Regions from separate parts of the Homo sapiens genome. Here region 1 is linked to region 2. Evidence: promoter capture Hi-C in human tissues and cell types (Jung and others, 2019). All regions are on one chromosome and are shown on one strand. The core of a region is centred on a gene start or on the middle of the fragment in contact, and the rest is flanking DNA. Distances in the headings are between cores, read along the strand shown. Region 1 has its middle 3.0 kb from the start of SET. Region 2 holds the start of PHYHD1 (phytanoyl-CoA dioxygenase domain containing 1).

The links. Contacts are between HindIII fragments. The study calls those that stand out against the background at their distance.
Region 1: a contact is called between a fragment that was not itself captured here and the fragment with the promoter of PHYHD1 in region 2, in 2 of the 25 tissues and cell types used here (dorsolateral prefrontal cortex and lymphoblastoid cells).

Annotation. Positions count from the first base shown.
Region 1 is chr9:128,683,182-128,689,170 of GRCh38, forward strand. It overlaps a transcript of DYNC2I2 not described here and a transcript of SET not described here. Among named protein-coding and RNA genes, the nearest start is that of SET, 3.0 kb to the right of the region's middle. RefSeq lists enhancers at 1-411, 412-1,049, 1,463-1,552, 2,888-2,987, 4,338-5,214 and 1 more and a silencer at 5,501-5,989. The HindIII fragment of the contact is 6,109 bases long and covers 1,065-5,989 here.
Region 2 is chr9:128,916,804-128,922,231 of GRCh38, forward strand. PHYHD1 (phytanoyl-CoA dioxygenase domain containing 1) reads left to right here and starts at 4,179. Exons shown (of 13, transcript NM_001100876.2): 1 at 4,179-4,865; 2 at 5,127-5,244. LRRC8A (leucine rich repeat containing 8 VRAC subunit A) reads left to right here. Exons shown (of 4, transcript NM_019594.4): 4 at 1-1,236. The HindIII fragment of the contact is 13,888 bases long and covers 1-5,428 here.

The DNA.
Region 1 (5,989 bases), core at 2,869-5,368, 230 kb before region 2:
CTTGTATCCCTTTCTGAAACAAGTGAAGAATGAATAAATACTCCAAGTCTCCAAAGTTTCCTGCTTTTCCCTCTTTCTCTGTAATTCTTTCTTTCTTCTTTTTTTTTTTTTTAAAGCAGGCATCTAATTCCTTTGTAATTCTTGATTGGGAAATCTTTTTTTCAACATTAATCTATCCCTTCAAGCAGAGACAAGGGAGGTCAGGAAGGAGTTAGCGAAACCGGGCAGTGGGGGTGTGGTTTACTGAGGAATGTTCCAAGCTTAGGTGAGGCAACAGCACGTGTTTAAATCTTTTGGAGGCCAAAGGAAAAAAAAAAGAGGATAAGTTCTCAGTAGGGGCAGGCCTGTCTACCTGGGGGTTTGGGAACGAACTGGGGGATAGGCTGCGGGGGTTTCACGTGAAACCAGGAGGTCTAGAAAGCACAGGGATCCTCTCCTCAAGGAAGAACTTGCCCCCTCCCCCAAAGCCAAGAGTGCCCCTGCAGAGCGAGGCAGAGAGCAACTAAAAGAAATTTCTCCTGATTGGAGGGTGGGTGGGATGAGGCTGGGGGAGGGGGCCGGGGTGTGTGTCCCACTGTCATGTAAATATCCCTTCCAGGCAGGGCGGCTCCAGTGCAGATTTAAGCCGCTGGCACCTGGGGCAGTCTCAGTGTTCAGCCTGCTTCCGGACGGGCGAGGAGACTCGTGGTCTGGTTCTGGGACTTCCCTAACAGCATGGCCCCTAAACGCCAGTCTCCACTCCCGCCTCAAAAGAAGAAACCAAGACCACCTCCTGCTCTGGGACCGGAGGAGACATCGGCCTCTGCAGGCTTGCCGAAGAAGGGAGGTACGTTTCTGCGCTAAGTTTTATTGGAGATTTAAGGGATTTGCAAGGATTGACTCTCTGATTTTTACCCCCCAATCCCTCTTGAGATGTGACCCCTAAGCACCCCCAAAGGGTTTTAAACCTGGGATGGTGGATTAAGTTTGCGTGAAGAACCAGAAGGGACTAGACTGGGAGAACGGGAGTGCACGGGAGCTCATCCCTGCCCCCAACTCAACACTGACCCCTGAGCTTGTCTCCCCAGCCCCCAAACTTCCTCCTCTGGGGCTCCCTTTCTTGGCAAGGGGCACTGCCAGCCAGCCTGAGGCCCCTCCTTCACCCCTCCACATCCAGCCAAATCCCCGATTCCTGGTGGTTCTACCTCAGTATCTCTCAGATCTGTCCACCTCTCTCTCTGTTCTTGCTGCCGACGGCGGCCCACAACTCTGGCCTGAATCTCTGCCACCTCCTCATCTTGGCTTCCAGCTTCCTCCTCCTCCCCTTCAGCCTGAGCATAGCCAATCACGTGGCCCACTCCCCGGCTTAAACCCCTCCCTTGCCTCCCCGCGTCCTCCAGGTGCTCAGAAACTTCTCTGGCCCGCCAACCCGGTCCCCGCCGACCTCTCCTGGTTCACACTTCTGAGACTCCCCACCTGGAGGCCTCCCTCAAGGTGGTACCCTTCACCTTGACCTCTTGGGACTCTACCCTCTGATCTCGGGGCCTAGACACCCACTTGCCCTTTCCTCTCCTTACCTGTGCACCACCTCCAGCTCTCTGCTGGAAAGTCACTTCCTGTGGGCAATCTGTGAGCCCCAACACTTGGGAGTTAGGAGTCCCAGAGTCATGCTGCCTCACCCTCTTGTCATTACATTGTAACCAGCAGTTTCATGCCTGCCCTTCCCCCCATTAAACTTAGAGGTGAGGGCTGCATTTTGGGAGACGTAGCTGGAGCTGGATAGAGAGTTGACTGTTCTGGTGACTAGGTCTGGCTCATAGGGGAGGGTTGTGGTGGAGCCTTCCTGGGCTGGGTGTGGATAGGCCCAGGGCCTGCAAGGAAACGGGAAGCTTTGATTGGCTGAGGGCAGGCAACTCTTATGGAAGAAGCACTGAGGAGGAGTCCTACCTCAGGGCTCAGTGTGGACCTGTTGGCACTTTTACTGGGTCTCAGTCCCTTTTCCTCCACATGGGATGCAGAGACCTCCTGCCCAGCTTGAAACCTACCTTGCTGGGTGAGCCACATAAAACAACTTGTGCTTGTTTTCTCTTCTATAAAATGGGATCCACAGTACTGATCTCCAGGCTTGCTGTGAGTCTGAAATCTAAGGGGAGCACTAGACAGCGCCTAGCACATCATCAGTGCTCTAGAGTGCATTTGTGCGCAGCAAAATGTGGGTGAGTCTTCCTAGTTTCCTTCCAGTGAGCTTCCTGGGAGCATTAACAGGACTGGAAGGGATGGAAAGGTGTGAGGGGGTTCATCTAAACCCAAAGAACAGCTCCTGCTGCTTAGTAGGCACTGATGGCATGCCAGAAGCTGTGCCAAGCACTTCTCTATCCTCACAGCCGTATGCTGTGGACATCCCAATTTTACAGATCAGAACAGGAGGCTCAAAGAGATGTGTATGTGTCTGTGGCGGGGGAGATGTTCCAGGCTCTGGAGATTTTTTGGTCTGTGCTTGGGACACTGCAGCACTGTGGGGGAATGCCAGCCTCTCTCTGTTCCAGTCTTTCTGGCGGTGGGGTTCTGTCCTCTTCAAAGGGAGCCGGGGGCCGGGCGCGGTGGCTGACGCCTGTAATCCCAGCACTTTGGGAGGCCGAGGTGGGCAGATCACCTGAGGTCAGAAGTTCAAGACCAGCCTGGCCAACATGGCTAAACCCCATCTCTACCAAAGACAGTTAGCCAGGCGTGACGATGCATGCCTGTAATCCCAGCTACTTGGGGGGCTAAGGCAGGAGAATTGCTTGAACTCCGGAGGCGGAGGTTGCAATGAGCCGAGTTCGTGCCATTGCACTCCAGCCTGGGCGACAAGAACAACAACAACAACAACAAAAAAAAAAACAACCAGAGGGGCCAGGAGGAGAGGAGAGAGGCAAGGGAGGAATTCTGAGTGAGGGGAGAGGCCAAGAAGAGAGAATGCAGAGCTTCTGGTGTTGGAGACGGGGAGAGAGCAGAGTCCTAAGAGTGGGTGAATAACCTCTCAGTGTGCCCCCGGCTCGCCTGTGTTTACTCACACCCCTGGCCCTTTTGCTTTCTCTTTCTCTTCAACTTCCTAGTGTGCTCATATTTATCTTGAGAAGCACTGTGTGGGGAAGGGCAGGAAAAGAGGGGCAGGGAGGTGGCAGGGAGGGTTGGGAGGCCAGAAAGGGAACCTGAAAGCCCACTCCCCCATCAGAAGGCATTACAGGGTTCCCTGGGACCCCTGCAGGTGCTTGGGAAACAGGCAGATAAGGCACTTAGGAGACATTGTGGGTCAGGAGTGACCCTATGGGTCAGGCTTTGAGGATGGAAGCAGCCAGCCCTTGGCATAGTGTTCTCAGACAGACTCAGCCCAGGAGCGGGTCGTGAAATCAATTTGGTGGGGTGTGACCTGCATTTTAAATAGGAAATTAGAATCACATCACCCTTGGTAAGGGTAAGTTTTGGTTTGTGTGTGCTAGGTCATGATGTCAAAAGTACTTCTGACTGTTGGTCACATTAAAAAAACTGAGGCAGGGTGCGATGGCTAACTCTTGTAATCCCAGAGCTCTGGAAGGCTGAGGCTGAAGGATGGTTTGAGCTCAGGAGTTTGAGACCAGCCTGGGCAACATGGTGATACCTCCTCTCTACAAAAGATAAAAACAAAATTAGCCAGGCAAGGTGGCAGTGGTGCTTGCCTGTGGTCCCAGCTACTCAGAAGGCTGAGGTGTAAGAATCCCCAGAGCCCAGGAGGTCAAGGCTGCAGTGAGCCATGGTTCTGGGCGACAGAGAGAGACCCTGTCTCATAATAATAACAACAATAAAAATAGAAAAACTGTTTTAAGGTAAGGGCTTTGTCAATTGCTACTTGGTTTAGAATCTTGGTTCTGTCACTTGCAACAAAGTTTAGTTTATGCTAGGCACAGTGGGTGGCTCATGCCTGTAGTCCCAGCACTTTGGGAGGCCGAGGTGGGCAGATCACCTGAGGTCGGGAGTTCGAGACCAGCCTGGCCAACATGGTGAAACCCCGTCTCTACTAAAAAATACAAAAATTAGCTTGGCATGGTAGTGGGCGCCTGTAATCCCAGATACTCGGGAGGCTAAGACACTCACCGTGCACTGTCTTGAACATGAAAGATGCTGCTTGAGCTTTAAGAGCTGATAGTGGGCCGAGCTCAGTGGCTCATGCCTGTAATCTCAGCACTTTGGGAGGCAGAGGCAGGTGGATCACCTGAGGTCAGGAGTTTGAGACCAGTCTGGCCAACATGGTGAAAACCTGTCTCTACCAAAAAATACAAAAATTAGCAGGGCGTGGTGACTCACATCTGTAATCCTAGCAACTCAGGATGCTGAGGCAGGAGAATCACTTGAACCCGGGAGGCGGAGGTTGCAGTGAGCTGAGATGGCACCACTGCACTCCAGCCTGGAAGACAGAATGAGACTTGGTCCCCTCCCCCACCAAAAAAAAAAAAAAAAAAAAAGAGCCAATGGTAAAGTGTGAGTTCTGGAAGGCAGAATTCCAACCCCAAGTTCTGGTTAAAAATGTCCAAAGAGAGATTTCAGGTATTTTTTTGTTTTTGTTTTAGAGATAGGGTCTTGCTCTGTCACTCAGGCTTCAGTGCAGTGGCTGCATTGGGGCTCATTGAAGCCTGGAATTCCTGGGCCCAAGCGATCCTCCTGCCTTGGCCTCCCAAAGTGTTGGGATAACAGGAGTGAGCTATTGCATGGCCAGGATTTGAAATTGGCCAGCGTATCACTAAAATCAACAAATGGTACTGGCCGGGCGCAGTGGCTCCCGCCTGTAATCCCAGCACTTTGGGAGGACGAGGTGAGTGGATCACCCCAGGTCAGTAGACCAGCCTGGCCAAGGTGGTGAAACTCCATCTCTACTAAAAATACAAAAATTAGCCGGGCATGGTGGCACGTGCCTGTAGCCCCAGCTACTCGGGAGGCCGAGGCAGGAGAATTGCTTGAACCCGAGAGGCAGAGCTTGCAGTGAGCCAAGATTGCGCCACTGCACTCCAGCCTGGGGGACAGAGCAAGACTCCCGTCTCAAAACAAACAAACAAATGCTACTAATCAGGGTTTTTCTGGCTTTTTATGGTTCATGTCTTGGGGTGCTGGAGGGACAGAATGTGGGGCATCCGCATTACTTGAAAAGTATTATTTAAACAAAATGCTTTGGCCCTCCTTAGTGGTTCAGAACTTTGCCTCTCAAGTAGAACTTGTTGGCCCCTTTCATCTCTATGAACAGAACACCGCCTATCGCTTGGGGCTGTTGTGAGGCCTCGGTGAGATAACCGTGCCATGCGCTGCTGAAACTGGCACTTAACGCTCAGTATGATTCTTGCGGGCGCTGGGCACCGCGGACTAATGTGGTACCTCCCTGCCTTCACAGGACTTCGAGTTTAATGTGGCTTCAGTGTCGTAACCTTTATCATTTCATAACAGAAACGGGTTCAGAGAGGAAGGGTGACTTGCTCAAGGGTACAAGCTTGCTGGGCAGGGCTTGGACTAAAACCCAGGAATGGCCCTGCGCGCGGATTACACAGCCTGGGGCTTCGCACACGAGCCCGAGTTTGAGTCCGATCGGCAGTTCCCCATCTGGCATCCAGAATGGGGTGCCCCCTGCTTTCTCCACGAAGTGGAAGGCGCCGAGAGGCCGGGCGGAATTCGGGGCCCCCATACGAGGCCGGGCCTGCACTTTCGGGGTGGTGGGCGCCCCGCTCCCGGTGCCCCGCGGAGCAGGGAAGCCGCTCGCTCACCACGTGACGCGCCGGCCGGGGGCACCCGCGCCTCCGTGCGACGCCCCGCCCACCGGCCTGCCGCGCGCCAGTGTCCTGGGTCGGGCCGGAGAGGGGAGAGCGGGGGAGGGGACGCGGCGCGGGGGGCGGCCGTGCGTCGCCGCGCGCCTTCCTCCCACCTCTCGCCGGGCCCTGTGTCTCCGCGCCGCGACTCCGCCCCCTCATCCCGCCGCCCAGGCCAATGGCGCCGCGGCGCGAGCCTCCCCGGC
Region 2 (5,428 bases), core at 2,929-5,428:
GAAAGGTGGGCTGCCTTTTCCCCTTGTCCTTATTTAGCGATGCCGCCGGGCATTTAACACCCACCTGGACTTCAGCAGAGTGGTCCGGGGCGAACCAGCCATGGGACGGTCACCCAGCAGTGCCGGGCTGGGCTCTGCGGTGCGGTCCACGGGAGAGCAGGCCTCCAGCTGGAAAGGCCAGGCCTGGAGCTTGCCTCTTCAGTATTTGTGGCAGTTTTAGTTTTTTGTTTTTTTTTTTTTAATCAAAAAACAATTTTTTTAAAAAAAAAGCTTTGAAAATGGATGGTTTGGGTATTAAAAAGAAAAAAAAAACTTAAAAAAAAAAAGACACTAACGGCCAGTGAGTTGGAGTCTCAGGGCAGGGTGGCAGTTTCCCTTGAGCAAAGCAGCCAGACGTTGAACTGTGTTTCCTTTCCCTGGGCGCAGGGTGCAGGGTGTCTTCCGGATCTGGTGTGACCTTGGTCCAGGAGTTCTATTTGTTCCTGGGGAGGGAGGTTTTTTTGTTTGTTTTTTGGGTTTTTTTGGTGTCTTGTTTTCTTTCTCCTCCATGTGTCTTGGCAGGCACTCATTTCTGTGGCTGTCGGCCAGAGGGAATGTTCTGGAGCTGCCAAGGAGGGAGGAGACTCGGGTTGGCTAATCCCCGGATGAACGGTGCTCCATTCGCACCTCCCCTCCTCGTGCCTGCCCTGCCTCTCCACGCACAGTGTTAAGGAGCCAAGAGGAGCCACTTCGCCCAGACTTTGTTTCCCCACCGCCTGCGGCATGGGTGTGTCCAGTGCCACCGCTGGCCTCCGCTGCTTCCATCAGCCCTGTCACCACCTGGTCCTTCATGAAGAGCAGACACTTAGAGGCTGGTCGGGAATGGGGAGGTCGCCCCTGGGAGGGCAGGCGTTGGTTCCAAGCCGGTTCCCGTCCCTGGCGCCTGGAGTGCACACAGCCCAGTCGGCACCTGGTGGCTGGAAGCCACCCTGCTTTAGATCACTCGGGTCCCCACCTTAGAAGGGTCCCCGCCTTAGATCAATCACGTGGACACTAAGGCACGTTTTAGAGTCTCTTGTCTTAATGATTATGTCCATCCGTCTGTCCGTCCATTTGTGTTTTCTGCGTCGTGTCATTGGATATAATCCTCAGAAATAATGCACACTAGCCTCTGACAACCATGAAGCAAAAATCCGTTACATGTGGGTCTGAACTTGTAGACTCGGTCACAGTATCAAATAAAATCTATAACAGAAAGTGGCCTTTGGAGGTCTTTGTGTCATGGGAGGACGCTTCCCTCACTTCTCTGAAGCCTGCCGGGCCGTGTGGAACGTTGCTTGGGCACCTACAGGAGAGTTAACTCTGCTCATCTCCTGCCCCATGAGACTCTGTGCCTTTGGAGGCAGTTACTGGAGCTTGTAAGCTGGACGCAGCACCTGCTAGGTAACAGGCTGTGACCTGGGCTGGGGATCCCATAGCCAGCACAATCTCTGTCATCCTACTCACCTGTGGTTGGGCACTCATGAGGGGGTTTTTTTGTTGTTGTTGTTTTTTTGACAGGGTCTCATTCTGTCACCTAGAGTGCACTGCTGGAATATAGTGGCGTGATCACGGCTCACTGCAGCCTTGACCTCTCCAGGCTCAGGTGATCTCACCTCGGCCTCCCAAGTAGCTAGGACCACAGGGGCATGCTGGCTAATTTTTTTTTTTTTTTTTTTTTTTTGAGACAGAGTCTTACTCTGTCACCCAGGCTGGAATGCAGTGGCTCGATCTCGGCTCACTGCAACCTCCGCCTCCCAGGTTCAAGTGATTCTCTTGCCTCAGCCTCACGAGTAGCTGGGACTACAGGTGCCTGCCACCATGCCCAGCTAATTTTTGTATTTTTAGTAGAGACAGGGTTTCACCATGTTGGCCAGGCTGGTCTTGATCTCCTGACCTTCTGATCCACCTACCTCAGCCTCCCAAAATGCTGGGATTACAGACATGAGCTACTGCGCCCAGCCGTGCTGGCTAATTTTTGTATTTTTTGTAGGGACGGGGTTTTGCCATGTTGCCCAGGTTGGTCTCGAATCCCTGAGCTCAAGAGATCCACCCACCTCAGCCTCCTAAAGTGCTGGGATTATAGGCGTGAGCCACCGTGCTTGGCCCCTCATGAGTTTTGATGGGTGGGGATGGGAGAGGAGGGCACTGGAATGGGAACCAGTAGTCCTGGGCCTTTGTCCCAGCTTCATGGGACAGGATGTGCATGAAGCTAGGCAGATCCCTTCTCCAGTGGCCTCTGTATCCCCATGTGGACAATGGGAATTTCCACTCTGTGCTCTCAAAGGTCCCTTGCAATTCCAACAGTGAGTCCCAAGTGGTCTACAGAGGTGGGGCTGAGAGTCATCGTGGGGAAGCCTGCCTCAGCTCCCAGCCCCTTTGGGGGCCTTTGGGAGGTAGTGTGGTAAAGGGCAGAGGCTGAGACAGCTGCTTCCAGATGCCAGTTCTGCCGTGTTTGATGTGGGGCTTCAGTGTTCTCATTTGTAAAATCAGGAAGGTAATGGCACACTTGCAGGACTGTTCAAGGAACAATGGCGATTATGTAGGTAGATGGGGTTTTTGGTGGAGGACCTGGCTGCTAGTACCCAATAAATGGCCTTGTATCTTCCACCCAGACCAAGGATCCTTGTGGTGGGCCAACGTGGGCGCCCTGCGGCAGGAGACTGGGTGAGGAAGAAAGGCCATCATATCTGACTTTGACCTTAGTGATGAGGCCTGGGTGGCTGCTTGGGCACCTCCTCTACAACTGGACAGAGTCTATCCCTCCTCCCTCCACGGGGACTCTGACCCCTCCAGGTGAACTCAGGCCTGAGCCAAGATTCCCTCCCTCTTCTCCCCCTGCCATGGGCTGACAGGCTGAGCAGCTGGACTGTGACTGCCGGGCTGGGGCCTTCTTTTCTGTTTCCGTGGTGGAGGTCCCTCCCCCAGTTTGGTACCCTTCCCACCACCCCCCGACCCCACTCCCGCCCCCACCCTGGCCTTGAGGCTGTCCAGCGCCTGGAGCAGGAGAGTTCGATCTGGAGCTGGTTTACATTTGGAAAAAACCACCATGTAGAAACACCGCCCACCCACTTCCCAAAGTTGAGCAGAATGAACAGTTAGTGGGAGGCTGGGCCTCTCCCCTCCCCCTCCCCCACCCACCCAGGGCTCTCCACTCTGCCTAAAACCACTGTGGTGGTCTTCTCTCTGATTGTAACAGCAATTTTGGAAGCTCAAAAAAATTGTTTAAATTATATTCCACCCAGCTGGGCGCGGTGGCTCACGCCTGTAATCCCAGCACTTTGGGAGGCCGAGGCAGGCAGATCACAAGGTCAGGAGATTGAGACCATCCTGGCTAACGCGGTGAAACCCCATCTCTACTAAAAAATATAAAAAATTAGCCAGGCGTGGTGGCAGGCGCCTGTAGGCCCAGCTACTGGGGAGGCTGAGGCAGGAGAATGGCGTGAACCCGGGAGGCGGAGCTTGCAGTGAGCTGAGATTGCGCCACTGCACTCCAGCCTGGGTGACAGAGCGAGACTCCATCTCAAAAAAAATAAATAAAATAAAAAATAAATAAATAAATAATATTCCACTCAGAACAGCCCCTGCTAACATTTGGTGAACAACTTGTTCACCAGTTGGTAGGCACTTACTCAGCGCCAGGCCTGGTGCCAAGCTCTTTATCAGCTGCGAAGCATTCATCTTATTTACTGCTCACAGGGGATCCTACTGCTAGCCCCAAATTACAGACTGGGAAAGTAAGGCCTGAACATCTGGGACGCAAACACAGTCTGCTTCACTGAGTCTCTACTACAAGCCTTCTGTGGGGGCTCCCAGGGGAATGGCTGGCCCAGTCCGAGGGGACCTCAGTGTTCTTGGCACATGGTAGGCATCTGTCTTTGTTGGGCAGTTGCATCAGAAGGGTTAAGGACAGCTGGGAACACATCCTGCCTCTAGTGAACCTCGTGGTTCTGTCATCTGCCTGCCCCTCACCCAGCCTAACCCCTCTGAACCAGGAGCCTGAGCTGCACTTACTGCTCCCCCCTGCCCCCCGGACGGCCTGGACCAAGCAGCAGCTCCCAGAGCGGTGGCCCAGCAAACACGACTTGACTCGAGGCCAAGGCTCTTGAGGGCTGAGCAGTGTCCCCATGCACACTCCTGAAACACTTTGTCCCTTCGCCATTCAGAAGGCATCATTTTGGGGAAGGCAGCAGCCGGTTTTTCAGAGCCAGCGAGTGGCCCTGCCAGCTGCTGAGCAGGGCAAGCTGAGAAGGGTGGTGGTGTGCAAGTGTTATTCTCTCTTTTTGTTTTTGTTTTTGTTTTTTGAGATGGAGTCTTACTCTGTCGTCCAGGCTGGAGTGAGTGCCGTGGCATGATCTCGGCTCACTGCAACCTCCGCCTCCTGGGTTCAAGCGATTCTCCTGCCTCAGCCTCCCGAGTAACTGGGACTACAGGCACCTGCCACCATGCTCGGCTAGTTTTTGGTATTTTTATTTATTATTTATTTATTTATTTTGAGACCGAGTCTCGCTCTGTCGCCCAGGCTCTAGTGCAGTGGCCCAATCTCGGCTCACTGCAAGCTCCGCCTCCCGCGTTCACGCCATTCTCCTGCCTCAGCCTCGCGAGCAGCTGGGACTACAGGTGCCCGCCACCACGCCCGGCTAATTTTTTGTATTTTTAGTAGAGACGGGGTTTCACCGTGTTAGCCAGGATGGTCTCGATTTCCTGACCTCGTGATCCGCGCGCCTCTGCCTCCAAAGTGCTGGGATTACAGGCCCGAGCCGCCGCACCCGGCCTGCAGGTGTTGTTCTGACCCCAGCTCCACTGTGCCAGCCCGACTTGAGATGCCAAGTATCTTGGGCCTGAGGGTGGGTAACAGGAAGCATCTCTCTCTCCTCAGCCCCTTCCTCCTACTAAGATACCCCATGTCTCCTACTTTCGTCTGAGCTGCAGATGGATGCGTTAATTCCCTTCCATAATCCTCCCAGGACCGAGAGGGTTTCAGATCGGTGCTGGGAGGGGCCCAGATAGTTCTCCCCAGGACCTCTTCCACCTTTGGAATGCCCATTACCTGGAGAAGGGGGGTGCCGCACATCCCCCAGACCAACCCTGCATCCCATTCTATCCAGATTGAGGCCTAGAGAGAGGCAGGCGTTCCTCAGAGTCACAGGGAATGGCGGCGCCTGGACTGGGACTCAGCCCAGCTGCTTGGCCTGACCCTCTCACAGCATAATTTCCCGGCACCTGGTAAGCAGTGGTGGGGGGTGGTTTCCAGAAGAAACACAGAGGAAGCAGATAAAATCCTTGGAGATGGGAAAGGGCAAATCCTGGATTAGTTGTGGGGGTGGGGGAGATTAGCCTGGAGGTCACAGGCTGATCTGGCTGTGTCTAGGGAAGGAGGGTTGGGTGGTGGGACCGGGTTTTCTCCGGG